Regions from separate parts of the Homo sapiens genome. Here all the other regions are linked to region 1. Evidence: promoter capture Hi-C in 16 types of primary human blood cells and fetal thymus (Javierre and others, 2016). All regions are on one chromosome and are shown on one strand. Each heading gives the region's core, a stretch centred on a gene start or on the middle of the fragment in contact. The rest is flanking DNA. Distances are from core to core; before and after follow the strand shown.

Evidence for each region. Contacts are between HindIII fragments. The CHiCAGO score rates a contact against its expected background, and 5 or more counts as called.
Region 2: a contact is called between a fragment that was not itself captured here and the fragment with the promoter of WNT4 in region 1, in 1 of 17 cell types (M2 macrophages). The highest score is 5.5, in M2 macrophages.
Region 3: a contact is called between the fragment with the promoter of EPHA8 here and the fragment with the promoter of WNT4 in region 1, in 3 of 17 cell types (erythroblasts, total CD4 T cells and M1 macrophages). The highest score is 7.6, in erythroblasts.
Region 4: a fragment that was not itself captured here is called in contact with the fragment with the promoter of WNT4 in region 1 in 1 of 17 cell types (endothelial precursors); the score reaches 5.7 in endothelial precursors.

What each region holds. Positions count from the first base shown.
Region 1 is chr1:22,141,614-22,144,624 of GRCh38, reverse strand. WNT4 (Wnt family member 4) reads left to right here and starts at 1,528. Exons shown (of 5, transcript NM_030761.5): 1 at 1,528-1,779. The coding sequence starts at 1,703. All of the region lies in intron 1 of LOC105376845 (a long non-coding RNA gene), which reads right to left. RefSeq lists silencers at 1,109-1,438, 2,001-2,060. The HindIII fragment of the contact is 11,467 bases long and covers 1-3,011 here.
Region 2 is chr1:22,590,111-22,593,121 of GRCh38, reverse strand. The region is part of intron 5 of EPHA8 (EPH receptor A8); the gene reads right to left. Among named protein-coding and RNA genes, the nearest start is that of EPHA8, 28 kb to the right of the region's middle. The HindIII fragment of the contact is 6,999 bases long and covers 1-3,011 here.
Region 3 is chr1:22,561,981-22,564,991 of GRCh38, reverse strand. It overlaps EPHA8 (EPH receptor A8), which reads right to left and starts at 1,503. Exons shown (of 17, transcript NM_020526.5): 1 at 1,263-1,503. The coding sequence starts at 1,356. RefSeq lists an enhancer at 465-965. The HindIII fragment of the contact is 15,431 bases long and covers 1-3,011 here.
Region 4 is chr1:22,507,962-22,510,972 of GRCh38, reverse strand. ZBTB40 (zinc finger and BTB domain containing 40) reads right to left here. Exons shown (of 18, transcript NM_014870.4): 7 at 2,836-2,972; 8 at 2,242-2,443; 9 at 1,740-1,873. Among named protein-coding and RNA genes, the nearest start is that of EPHA8, 54 kb to the left of the region's middle. The HindIII fragment of the contact is 1,098 bases long and covers 955-2,052 here.

The DNA of each region.
Region 1 (3,011 bases), core at 279-2,778:
TTTTGTTAGCTTGATTTATAGCCTGCAAATATTTGGACATATGGTATGTGAACCTCCATCTATACTCTTGCCCAGCCCCACAAATCCCTGCCACGTTCCACCCAGTCCCAATACCAAATGTTTACTGAGCCCTTCCTCTGTTCTGAGCCCAGGGGACCCCAGGGCACCATCCCAGCACCCAAACATGATGGCCTCTGTGGGAGCAAACTTCATACTCCAAAATCAGTGAAGAACTAAGATCAGGGGGTGAGGGCATAGACCTGGTCCTTGCCTCTGTTCCCAACCCCTAGGGAGGTGGGACAGGTGCCTCCCTTTCCGGGCCTTAGTTTTACTGTTTAGATAAGAGGTCCCTCTACCTGTGAGCAGCTGGGGGATGCAGCCTGGAGGATGAGTAGCACACAGAATCAGATCAGTGACCTGAGAGGGTGTGGCGTGGACTTGGGCAGACAATTCTTAGGGGTTACAGTGATGTGGAATTGAGCTCTCTGGACTAGCCAAGCACAGGCTGTTGCAGCCCATTCCATTCCATTCATTTATTCCTTCCACAAACATGGCAGGCACCGCCCTGTGCCCAAAACAAACAAGAGGCTGAATCTGCCTAGTATGGGAGGATAAATCGAACAAGCACATAGAAAACCAAATGCAAAGTAAGACTTGGTGAGTGAGCCAAGAGAGCTTCCCTAAACTCCTCCTGTCCTCCCAATCACAGCGTCTTAAGCCCACTTCCCGGATGAGAAAACGGAGGCTCAGAGTCAAGACCCTGCTGCCTGGGGCGCGCCCAGACCTTGTGGCTAGCCAGAAGCGAGGTTTCGGATTCCCACAGTCTCGGGCCACTGTCCCAAGCTGCCCAAAGCTGGGGAGGCCCCGTCCAGCTCCCGGAAGGCTGTAGGGAGGTGAGCGCCAGGGAGGGGCTGGGCCGCAGGACGCGGGGGCCAGGAGGCAGGGAGGGGCCGGGCGGGGGGCGGTCGGGAGACATCCAGCGCCCCGATGTGCAGCCCCAGGCACCCGGAGCGCCAGCGCCTGGGTGCGCGCGAGTGGTAGCCGCGCTCCGGTGGGTCCGCCGCGGTCGGACCGGGGTCTGGGCTCCAGGCGCCGGCGGGGGGCGGTGGGGGGGGTAGGGGGACAGCGAGGGCCGCGCTGCAGTGCCCGCAGCGGCGGGTTGGGGGAGCTGTGCCCGCCTGTCCCCTAGGCCCGGGCGGCGGCCGGGCAGCTGGGTCGCCGCGCCTCTAGCCGGGCCGGGCTCGGCGGCGCGCAGCCAGGCGTGCCTGGAGCGGGCTCGGGCCCCAAGTCCTCCGGAGCGCCCAGCCGGGGAGGCCCCGGGAGCAGCCCAGTCCCGCGGGCTAAGGCGGCAGCCGCCGCCGCTCCGGCCCGCCCCCGGGGGGGTGTCCCGGGCCGCTGGGCCCGCCCAGGTAACCCCATCCTCGGCCCGCCCCCGGCCCGCCCCCCCGGCCGCCCGCCCGCCCGCCCGCCTCCGCCGCCGCCGCCGCCGCCGCCGCCGCCGCATCCCGGCTCTGGGGCGGCGCTGACAGTCTGGTCCGCGCCGGGCAGCGGGCGCAGCAGCGGGCAGGCTGCCGGCAGGCACACGGAGGCAGAGCCCCGCCGCGCGCGCCCCGGCCCGCCCGCGGGCGCCCACCTGCAGCCCCGACGGGAGGCCCCCCGCGGCCGCAGCCGCTGCCCCGGGCCGGGCGCCCGCGGCGGCACCATGAGTCCCCGCTCGTGCCTGCGTTCGCTGCGCCTCCTCGTCTTCGCCGTCTTCTCAGCCGCCGCGAGCAACTGGCTGTAAGTCTGGCCGGGGCCGAGCGGGGCGGGGCGGGGCGGGGCAGGCCCCGGGGGCAGCGGCCGGTGCCAGGCGGCGCGGGGCAGCGGGCGCGGGGCAGCCCGGCAGGTGTCTCGGCCGCGGGACCGGAGGCTCGCTCGCTCCGCTGCCGCCGCCACGGCCCGAACGTCCCTCTGCACACCCGGGGTCCCCTCCTGCCCGGGTCCGGCTCCCTGCCCAGAGGCGTCAGGGGTGGCTGTGGCGGCGTCCGCACCGGTAGGCGGCTCGGGGCTCTCGAGGGCGCCAGGGGTGCGAGCGCGGGGCGGTGGCCCGGGAGGGGCGCCGGACGCGGGTTGCAGTCCAGCCGGGCTGACAGGTCGCTGAGGAAGCCCATTGCAGGGAAGGGCTCCGGGACATAATAGCAGGTTAATCCCGAGAAGTCCGGAGCGAGCTCCCAGCGCCGAGCTGCGCCGAGCTGCGCCGCGCTGCGGGCTGGGCTGGAGGCGTGCAGGGACCTGTTTCTGCTTGGGGGGCGGGAGCCGGAGACAGAAGGAAGGGACCAGGACGCCTGGTCTCCCAGGGCCCGGGGCTGGCGCTGGCGCTGGCCGGGCCTTGGTTTTTCCCCGGGGCAGGAAGAAACTCCGTCCAGACCTTAAAGAAGACAACGGCCCCCCAGCTCCCCGTGTCTAGCCTAAGGAGGAAGGGGTGGTAACCGCTGGTGACCTGTCTGTTTCTCCTTGACTGGATCTGCGCTCAGGGCGCTCCCTGGGTAGGGGCGGAAGGTTTGCTGCAGGGAGGGAGACTAAAGGGATGAGCTCCAGTGAGTGGGTGGACAGGGAGCAAGCGGACCCGCGCTCCTTTCATCCCCGCTCAGGGACAGTTCCCCATGCCCCGCGCTTAACCCTGGCCCCAGTTCCTCCTGCCCAGAGCTCTGCCACCATCCGCTGTGGGCAGCCAGTGGGGAGCCAAGCTCCAATATTGATCTGAAAAGCATGGGGTGGGAAGGGGGATCGCCAACAGTGTAGCTGGGGTTTCCATGGAGACAGGGAGAGAGGAAAAAATTCTCTCTGCATCAAGACCAAAGAACAAATATCTCCCATGAAATTGCCCCGAGTGTCCAATGGCTGTTGCTATGAGGTCATTGTGGCCAGCCAGAGCCCTCCAGGCTGGAAGGAGTGTGTTCGTTGGGGTCAGAGCCACCCAGGGCTTGGGGGACGGAGGTGATGTGGAATTCTCCCAGCTGTTCCGAGAGCAA
Region 2 (3,011 bases), core at 331-2,830, 450 kb before region 1:
CGTGGCCTGGCATGGTCTGGGATGTTGGGGTTGGCTTGGACAAGAAGACGCTTGAGCCTCCCTCCCCAGCCCAGGGCCCGGCATGGACCAGCTGCTTGGGAGTGCTTGAGGAAGGAGGAAAGGTCAGGAGAAAGAAGTGTAGAAAGAATGGAGGAACTGGCCCCTCACTGCCTGGGTTTGGAGGGCATACCTGGGACAGTTCTGGATGCTGAGGGAAGGGGGTGAGCTGAGCCCCAAGTATTCTCCCAGTCACACTTGGTTGCCCGCCCACCCCTCCCTCCTTGACGGCGTCACCCATGCCTTTCTTCATGCATCTCTCCCTCCTGGCTCAGGTGCGGTCAGCCCTGTGGGGAGGCTGCTAGGAGGTGTCAGACACAGCCACGCCACAGCCAAACAGAGGGAACTGCCCTGTCCTCCCTGCCCCTCCAGCCCTCAGGCCTCCTCCTCCCCTCTGCTCACCCCGAGTTCTGACTCTCTGCCCTATGTGACTAAGTCTTCCCTCATGTCTGGGCATCCCCAGCACAACCGGGAGCTCCCTGGGGGCAGGGACTGCACACAGTAGGTGCCCAATAAATGCTGCTGAGGATTCTGGCATGAGAAATTAAGAAGCAGCTCCAGAGTTGCACTGGAAGGGTGTGGTCCAGGGGAAAGCCCACCAGTCTGGGAGCCAGGCGTGGGTTCGGGACTTGGCTCCCTCTCTTGCTAGCTGGGACCCTGGGTGAGTCACTTGCTGTCTGCGGACACCAGGTCCCCTTCTATAAAGTGAAGCTAGTGAGCACCACTTGCCAGGGGGAGGGGAGGATTCGATGAGGCCACTGTTTGCAAGGGACACACAGGGTGTGTCTCTTAAAAACCAAGGCAGGAGGTGCTGTGGGATGGGGGCAGACAGAGTGAGACCAGGGCCCAGAGCGGGAGGGGAATGGGGTTCGCGTCCGAGAGGGCTCCAGGGAGGAGTTGGTTGTAGAGAAGTGGTGATGGTGAGGCAGGAGGGGCAGGTGGTCTTTGAGCACAGTCCTCCACATTTGCTTAGAGCTGTCGCTTGATCCTCTAGGACTCCTGAGTGCCTATCACATGCTGGGCACGGGGCTAGGAGCCGGGAACTCTGCAGTGCCCAAGACATCCCTCTAGGAGCTTCTGTCCCAGGAAAGGAGACAGGGCGTCCAATAAACAGGAGAATGGGGGTTCTTTTGGTGCTGGGAAAGGTAGGAAGGGGTGCTGTCTGTGATGGAGAAGACCACTGCAGGGCCCGGAAGGGCACTGGCACGTTTCAGCTGAGGTGGTCGGGGGAGCTTCCAGGGCAGAGGAGCCAGGCATAGGAATGTCAGGGGAAGAGTGAGTCATTCCGAAGGAGAAGCCAGGCCACGGCCTAGCAGCAGGGAAAGACCCAGTGTGTTCAAGGAGGGGGCACCGGAGACCATCATGGCCAGAAGAGAGTGAGCCAGGGAAAGAGGTGCTCTGGAGAGGCAGGCAGGGGTGAAGCTGTGTGGGTCCACAGGCCATGAGAATGTCTGAATTGCATGTGCGCTCAGCCTAGGCTGTGAAGGGCTTTGAGGACAGCTTGTTCTCATGTATTTTCATCTAAAAAACTTGGGGGGCGGTGGTGCTGGGCATGGTGGCTCATGCCTGTAATCCCAGTACTGTGGGAGGCTGAGGCAGGAGGATCACTTGAGCCCAGGAGTTTCAGATCAGCCTGGGAAATATAGGGAGACCCCATCTCTACAAAAAAAAAAAAATCACTGGGCATGGTGGTGTGTGCCCTTGGTCAGCTACTTGGGAGGCTGAGGTGGGAGGATCACTTGGGCTCCGGAGATCAAGACTGCAGTGAGCCGTGATTGTGCCACCACACTCCAGCATGGGTGACAGATAGAGACATTGTCTCAAAAAAAATTTTTTTTGTAGAGATGGGGTCTTGCCATGTTGCCCAGGCTGATCTCAAACTCCTGGCCTCAAGTGATCCTCCCGCCTTGGCCTCCCAAAATGCTGGGATTACAGGCGTGAGCCACCACACCCAGCCCTCACTTCTATTTTTAAAGCTCACTCAGGACTGGTGTGGAGAATGTCTTGTGGGGGTGAGGCAAGAGGGGTCTCCTGTGGTGGTCCAGGCATGGACTCGTGGGGGGTGGAAGTCAGTTGGTCATTTTGAAGGGAGGTCCCTGGGGCTTTAGGGGGGGATGGATGTGACATGCATGAGAGTCAAGGATGACAGCTTGGGTCTGGAGGTGCCATGTCCTAGGGCGGGGCAGGTGCAGGTGTGGCAGGGTTGTTTGTTTTTCACATAACCGAATGGAGACAGGAGTGGGCAGCTGGGTCCTAGGGGAGAGGTCTTCGCTGGTGACCGCGAGTTGGGGGTTGTTAGCACAAAGGTGGAATTCAAAGTCATGGGCCCTGAAACAGCCGCCCAGAAAAGATGGATCTGGGCACACAGGAAAGAGAGGAGGGCCCAGGACATTCCCAGGGACCCATGGCCTTTAGAGGCCATTTAAAGGAGGTGGGGCTACAAAGACAGAGAGGGACAGGCCACACAGGTCAATGGAAAATGGGCGTGGGCTGGGACACACGAGCAAGAGAAAAGTGTTTCCAGGAGGAGGAAATGAAAGGGGGAAGAGGCGCCCATGGATGTGGCCACGCAGGGCTGCTGATTTCTGTGAAGAGGTGAGGAAAGACATGGAGAAGTCCCGCAGAGGAGAGGAAGAAGTAGATACGCCAGGCACGGACAGAGAGGGTCGTATGGGAAGAGAAATGGTCTGGTGACCGGAGGGGAAGGCAGGTTCAAGGCAGGGTCTAGTTTCCTCTTTAATGTTGGGGCATCCCGGATGCTGCCTGAATGCTGTGAACTTCTCTTGCTCTCCCCTCCACTTGGGACCAGCCTGCCAGGGGCCTCAGGTGCCTAGAGACAGGTGGGCCAGGGCTGGGCTCTACCACGGGGCACATAGCTCACTCTCTCTCTGTGTTGCCAGCACCTGGCACCACACTTGGCATTTAGTGGGTGTTCCACGAGGGCTGTCGAATGA
Region 3 (3,011 bases), core at 254-2,753, 420 kb before region 1:
ATCCCAAGTAGCCTGTGTGTGTGCTTGTGTGTAGGGTGGGCCCTCGGTGAGCTGTGTGTGAAGGGCAGATGTGTGATCTGTCTGGGCGTGGAAGAGCAGCACCAGCTCCGGAGTTCGCTTACACCTGGAAGTTCATCTTGGCAGGGTGAGGACCCAGCTCTGGTCCCTGGACATCAGCCCTGGGAGCCTGCACAGAGACGCTCTGGCTTCCTTGGGGCAGAGCTGTGGGAACAGAGGAGGGTCAGGGCAGGGGTTGGGGTGTGGGGAGTGGGACCCAGGGAAACCTCCTGAGCTGGATGGAGCTGGGGTCTCCAGGGAGCTAACGGGTGTGTGGGTGGCAGGCTTAGGTGCTCCCTCTCAGCTCTTCTTGTGCCCCCACCACCAGAAGTCATTTCCCAGACCTTTTTGGTCCCAACGACTCAGTGCACCTCCCCACCCCAATCCTTCCTCCCACACAGGGCCCCAGAGTGACCCTGCCATCCCAGCCTTCTCTGACAAGACTTTGCTCTCCGGGGCCTGCCTGCCTCAATCTCTCTGTGGCCTCCCCATCCCCCAGCCCTCTCCTCCCCAAGCCGCTCCCGCTGCCCACGAAGCTGCCTCTCCTCCAGCTGGAACTCCCCTGCCCTCCCTTCTTCTCCCCAGCCCGTCGCCAGACTGTGGCCCTCGGGCCCTGACCCCTCTCCCAGACTCTCATTCCGCACCCCTCCTTCCTGCCTCCCCTCAAAGCCAGTCCTGCTCTCCGGGGTCCCGTTTCTCAGCGCCTGGCTCCTATCTCTCAATGCTGTCCCCACCCCCTTTGCCTTCTGCCCTCTGAACCTCCTCCCCCATTCTCCTGTCCCTCCAACCCCAGTGCCTACCCCCCTGTCCTCTGTCCCCAACCCTGTTCCTTGCCCTACCTCACTGTACCCTCTCCTCCTTACCTCTTCTCTTGTCTTCTGTCCAGTCCTGTCCCCTTGTCCCCGGCGTCCGACCCTCAGTATTCTGTCCCCAGCTGCACATCCCTCAGTCCTGTCTCCTGTCCTTTCCCACTGTCCCCCAGTCCCCGGTACCTGTCCGTCTTCCTCAAGCTCGCGGGTTCCCATCTCCACCGCTCTGTCCCTTAATCCCGGGTCTCTTCCGCGGTGCCACCCCGCCCCCCGGGCCGAGGGATCCCGGCCGCCTTGGAGCTCAGGGTCCATGCAAAGGAAGTTGAGCCGCAGGCAGCGCGCGCCGCGCCCCGCGCCCCTCGGCCGCCCCTGCCCCGCCCCGCCGCCGCCGCTCACCTTCGCCGCGCGCCGCGGACACGCAGGTGGCCGCCGCCGCCGCGGCCGTGACGACCCAGAGCGCAGGGGGCAGGCGGCCCCGGGCGGGGGCCATGGCCGGGCCGGGCCGGGCGGGCGGGGGCGCCACGCACCCTCGGGCTTGGCCGCTGCGGCCCGCGCGTCGGGAGGGAGCGCGCTCCCTCGCTCTCCGCACACCCGGCCGGGCGCACACCCCGGCGCACACGCGGCTCCCAGCGCACACGCGGGCACCCGCGCCCGCCGCCGCCGCCGCCGCCCCGGGCGGGGGCCGGCCCGTCACGGCGCCGAGCCAATCAGCACCGAGGCGGGGGGGTGGGGGACACGGAGCCCGCACCGCGGCCACCCGGCCCGCGGCCACCGCCGCCGCACGTGCGCACGCCCACACTCCCCCGGCGGGCACCTTCGGGGGCGCGCCCCGCGCTGCGCACTTGGACTCAGGGCTCAGGGCCCCAGTGCGCGAAGCCACCATCGGGACGTCCCGGCGACACCAGGACCAGACCCACCCAGGGATTCCCTCTGTGGACACACGCGCGGGCCGCACATCCACCGCATGCTCGCTCCTGCCCGCATGACCCCAACACCGAGTGCTTCGCGTGGTGACACACTCCGATGGATACACACTAGTTCATGGGCAGAGGCTCAGAGATGGGCTCAGCGGCAAACTCAGAGGCACTTTTAGGTGAAAAACCAAAAAAACACCAAAACCAAAACTCTCTCCCTTTCCCCACCCCAACAACTTGGCATTTAGGGACCACGGGATTTTAAGGAGGCCTTAGATTGCAGTGGTCAGGAGGGCAGGCTCAGGGACCAGGAAGACAAGTGTCCTGCTGTGTGGCCTTAGGCAAGTTTCTTAAGCTCTCTGAGTCTAAAACTTCATGTCTGTAAAACAAGAATACCAGTATCGATATCCTAGGGTGGCGTGAAAGGGCCCAGGTGGAACTCCTGGCAGACGGCCGGGCACACAGCCAGGTGGCCGGTCATGGGAGCTGTTATCCAGTGAGGGGGACTATCATTCCCTGCTTTTCCCTCCCCTGACCTTCCCTGTCTCCAGTTCCATCCCCCAGGACTAGGGGTCTCATCCAGGGATGGCTTTGGGCTGTGAGGGGAGGACAGGGATATAGGGCTGCATCCTGGGGCCTGCTCTGCCACCCTCAAGTCCCTCACACACCTGGTGGGCCAAGCAGTCCGAGAAGCAGGCAAGAGACCTGCAGCCTCCTGAGAGGGTGGATGCCCACGGGAGCAAGTGCCTGATTGCTTCCCACTGCCGCCTGGCACAGACCATCGTCCAGTCCCCTCTTCCTTCGTTCCCAGCTCTCATGGTCACTGGGGGGTGAGGAGAATTGGAGCCATGGCTGGAAGTTACATAGGATGAGAAAGGCCATTTGGGGAACATGTGCCCTGAGTCAGACCCTGCTCTAGGGGCTTTATAAACTCGCTCCAGTTTAAGCCTCACACAGCCTTGCAGGGCTGGCACACCTAAGGAAACAGAAGCTCAGAAAGGCCATCATTTGCCTTAGATCACACAGCTGGTTGAATGCTAGAGAGGTACTCAGATCCACAGCTGCTTGGCTCCAACGCCCGTTTCTTTCCTCTGTGTCTTTTTTTTTGCTACAGAAAGGGGGAAGACAGTTCCATAGGAGCCCCTTCCTCGCAGCTCAGGTGGACTGCCTCACTGATGTAGTGAGACTCCTGTGACCAGAGGCATTTAAGCAGATACTAGCTAGAAATTGT
Region 4 (3,011 bases), core at 254-2,753, 370 kb before region 1:
ATGTATCCAGATAAATGTGCAAATACAAAGAAGATACATGCAGGGAAGCATAAAGCATTTTCTATAAGAAATAGCTTATCAGAAACTAGGAGTCTCCCAAAGACCTTTTCTGGATCTTAATACTAAAAGCTTGAAAAGCTATAGGATTTGGTCGTCGGTGTGTCTGTCTTGAAAATCAGAATAAGTTTTCATAATATATAATTGTCTCAATGTCTGGAAGTAATTCTGCATGATCAGTGGCTTCATATTTTTAGATACTTAGATGTACCCATTTAAACGTCATTTTCTTTCACAAAGAAACTCAGCGTTTTAAAGAAGGTTCAAATAGAAGCTTTAAAGAGTCCAAGAATATTATTTCAAAGCCGTCGTCCTCTTTCAGAATGTTAGAGCTATCAGCAGAAAGAGTCGGTACACTGAGAAAATAAAGCTAAACCATCCACAGATGGCCAAACGGAATTTTCATTTTGGAAGATATTTTATTTCTGCTCTTTTCAAGTCTATCTAAATAAACCTGATGTCCCTGGAGGCAGGCATGAGACTAATTAGTGAGGCTAAAACTGATCAACTGCAGAAGCCCCATCTCTGAAGTTACGGCGTGCTGGAGAGAGTCTAACAGATGAGTCTTTCCTCTGAAGCCCCACAGAAATGTGTGCCATCTTCTTCCCATCTGAGTCAGACCAACATGTGGCTGTCACCTGCACAGAGAGAGTTAGAAACCCGCCCTTCTGCACACCTTCCACACCTACCTGAATCAAAAGGGCACTACATTTGAATCTGTAGTTTAATTTCATGTTCCTTTCTTGTTCTTCCCCACTCAGGATGCAAATGATCCTGGGCTGGACACCCATGAGTTCCCCCAGTCCCCACTTGGTATTCCTGGGATGCTGGCCACATTGTGTGAAGGCTTACAGAAAATGAGCTGGCACTATTTGCTACCCAATATGGGCAAAAGCTTTGTTTTATCTATGTTTATCTTGGCTCTTTCTAGAAGCCAGAATAGAACATGTAATAAGACCAGTTTTACTTTCCTTCATCTGAGAGAAGCTGCTTCTTAGAACAGGTAAGAGAACAGTATCATGGCTCCAGGGGATACCAGGTTTAGATAAATGGAATAAATTGGTTTGAGTCATAGGAAGCTGGGTTCAAATCCTGACATCATCTCCTCCCTGCCAGAGCATTTTAGACAGGTAACTTAACCCTTTGGGGCCTGAGAACCCTTGTCTATAAAATGTGATAACATCACCTGCCATGTAGAGCTGGAAGGATTAAAAGAGCAAACGTGTTAGGAAGCATTAGCCTAGCAAGGGGTACAGATATTGGTTCTGGCCAGGCACAGTGGCTCACGCCTGTAATCCCAGCACTCTGGCAAAGCTGAGATGGGTGAATCACTTGAGGCCAGGAGTTCGAGACCAGCCTGGCCAACATGGCGAAACCCCGTCTCCACTAAAAATACAAAAAATTAGCAGGGCACGGTGGTGCGCACCTGTAATCCCAGTTACTTGGGAGGCTGAGGCAGGAGAATCGCTTGAACCCGGAAGGCAGAGGTTGCCATGAGCCAAGATCGTGCCACTGCACTGCAGCCTGGGCGACAGAGCAAGACTCTGTCTCAAAAGAGAAAAAGGAAAAAAAAAGAAGGAAAAACAACCCAACCAACTATTGGTTCCTCTCTTAGGAATGAAGACAGTCCCAGGCAACAACTGTAAAACTCTCTGGCATTTCGCTTTTTATTCCCACCACACCTCTTTCACAGTCTCTGCCAGGTGCTCCTCCTCCGAGGTAAAGAGCTTGTACTCAATCTTCTGTTGGATGGCCTCCAAGATCAACTGGTTATGCCTCAGGATTGTTTCTAAAGTGGCATGTTCTGGGGTGGTCACTGAAAAAAAGGGGGATCAAAAACTCATTAGGCAAACAATGAGCACCATTTTTTCCTACACCCTTCCTCCACTCAACTCTTCATAATGAAAATGCATTTCCCCTATCTCCTATCTGAGGTTGGCAGTGGGGAAAACGGCAAATAGCACTGTAATCAGAGTATAATAATGAATGTAAGCTTAAGATAATTACTGGATCTATTTTTTAAAAGGTTTACAAACTCTTGTGTCCTTGAACAAAACTGCCAGTCCTTACTTCTAATAGTAGGGATGTAGGTGACTACCGTTAAGAGAGCTCTTCCTATTTTCTAGGAAGACTGACAGTCATCTCTAGTGGGGGCAAAACCCCCCCAGAGGGCAGGTAACTTACCTGCCCGGAAGAAAGCATCGGCACCAGGCTCCCTTCGTATTTCCTCCATGAGCAGGTCCAATGGACAGGTCTTTGTCTCCTGAACCACCAGCAGCAGTTGCCAAATGGCTGTGGCAGAGAGAGTCTGCTTTTCTAGAACTGCTGATATCAGAGAATTGAAACCACCTGAACCAGAGTCACGTTTCACAAGCTTCTCCATGACCTTCAAGATGTAACACAAACACTCACGTAAGAGACTCTCCAGCCACTAGCCCAGCTGCAGAGCTGCAAGTCTAGATATTGGGTTACAGTGAATATGTTTGGGGAAGGAGTTTTTCAACATCCTCACCTCTCAGTCTGAGAGATTTCTTATACATGACAAAGTTCTTCATTTCTCCTTTTGAATGCCTTTCCTTATTACCACAGAAATTAGAACTATTCTATTTGTTATTCCACCTTAGAAACTGAGATACCTTCTATTTCTCCTCTACTTAGCAATTCTCAACATGGCTACATATGTATATTTACAGAAAATATAAATGTGTGTGTGTATTCATATTTTTTCCTTCTTTCTCATTTTACCCTCCCCTCCCTCTGTTTCTCTCCCTCTCTTACCTCTCTTTCTCCAGGGGCTAAACTTGTCATGTGTGAGATCATCTTTAATAAAATCTGGTTGTCTGTGAAAATCTCAGAGAGGTTTTCATGATAGCGTCTCAATAGCTCAGTCCCATAATCATCAGGGCTTGGTTGGACTGTAAGGATATTAGCAAAACAATAATGTTTGATGCAAC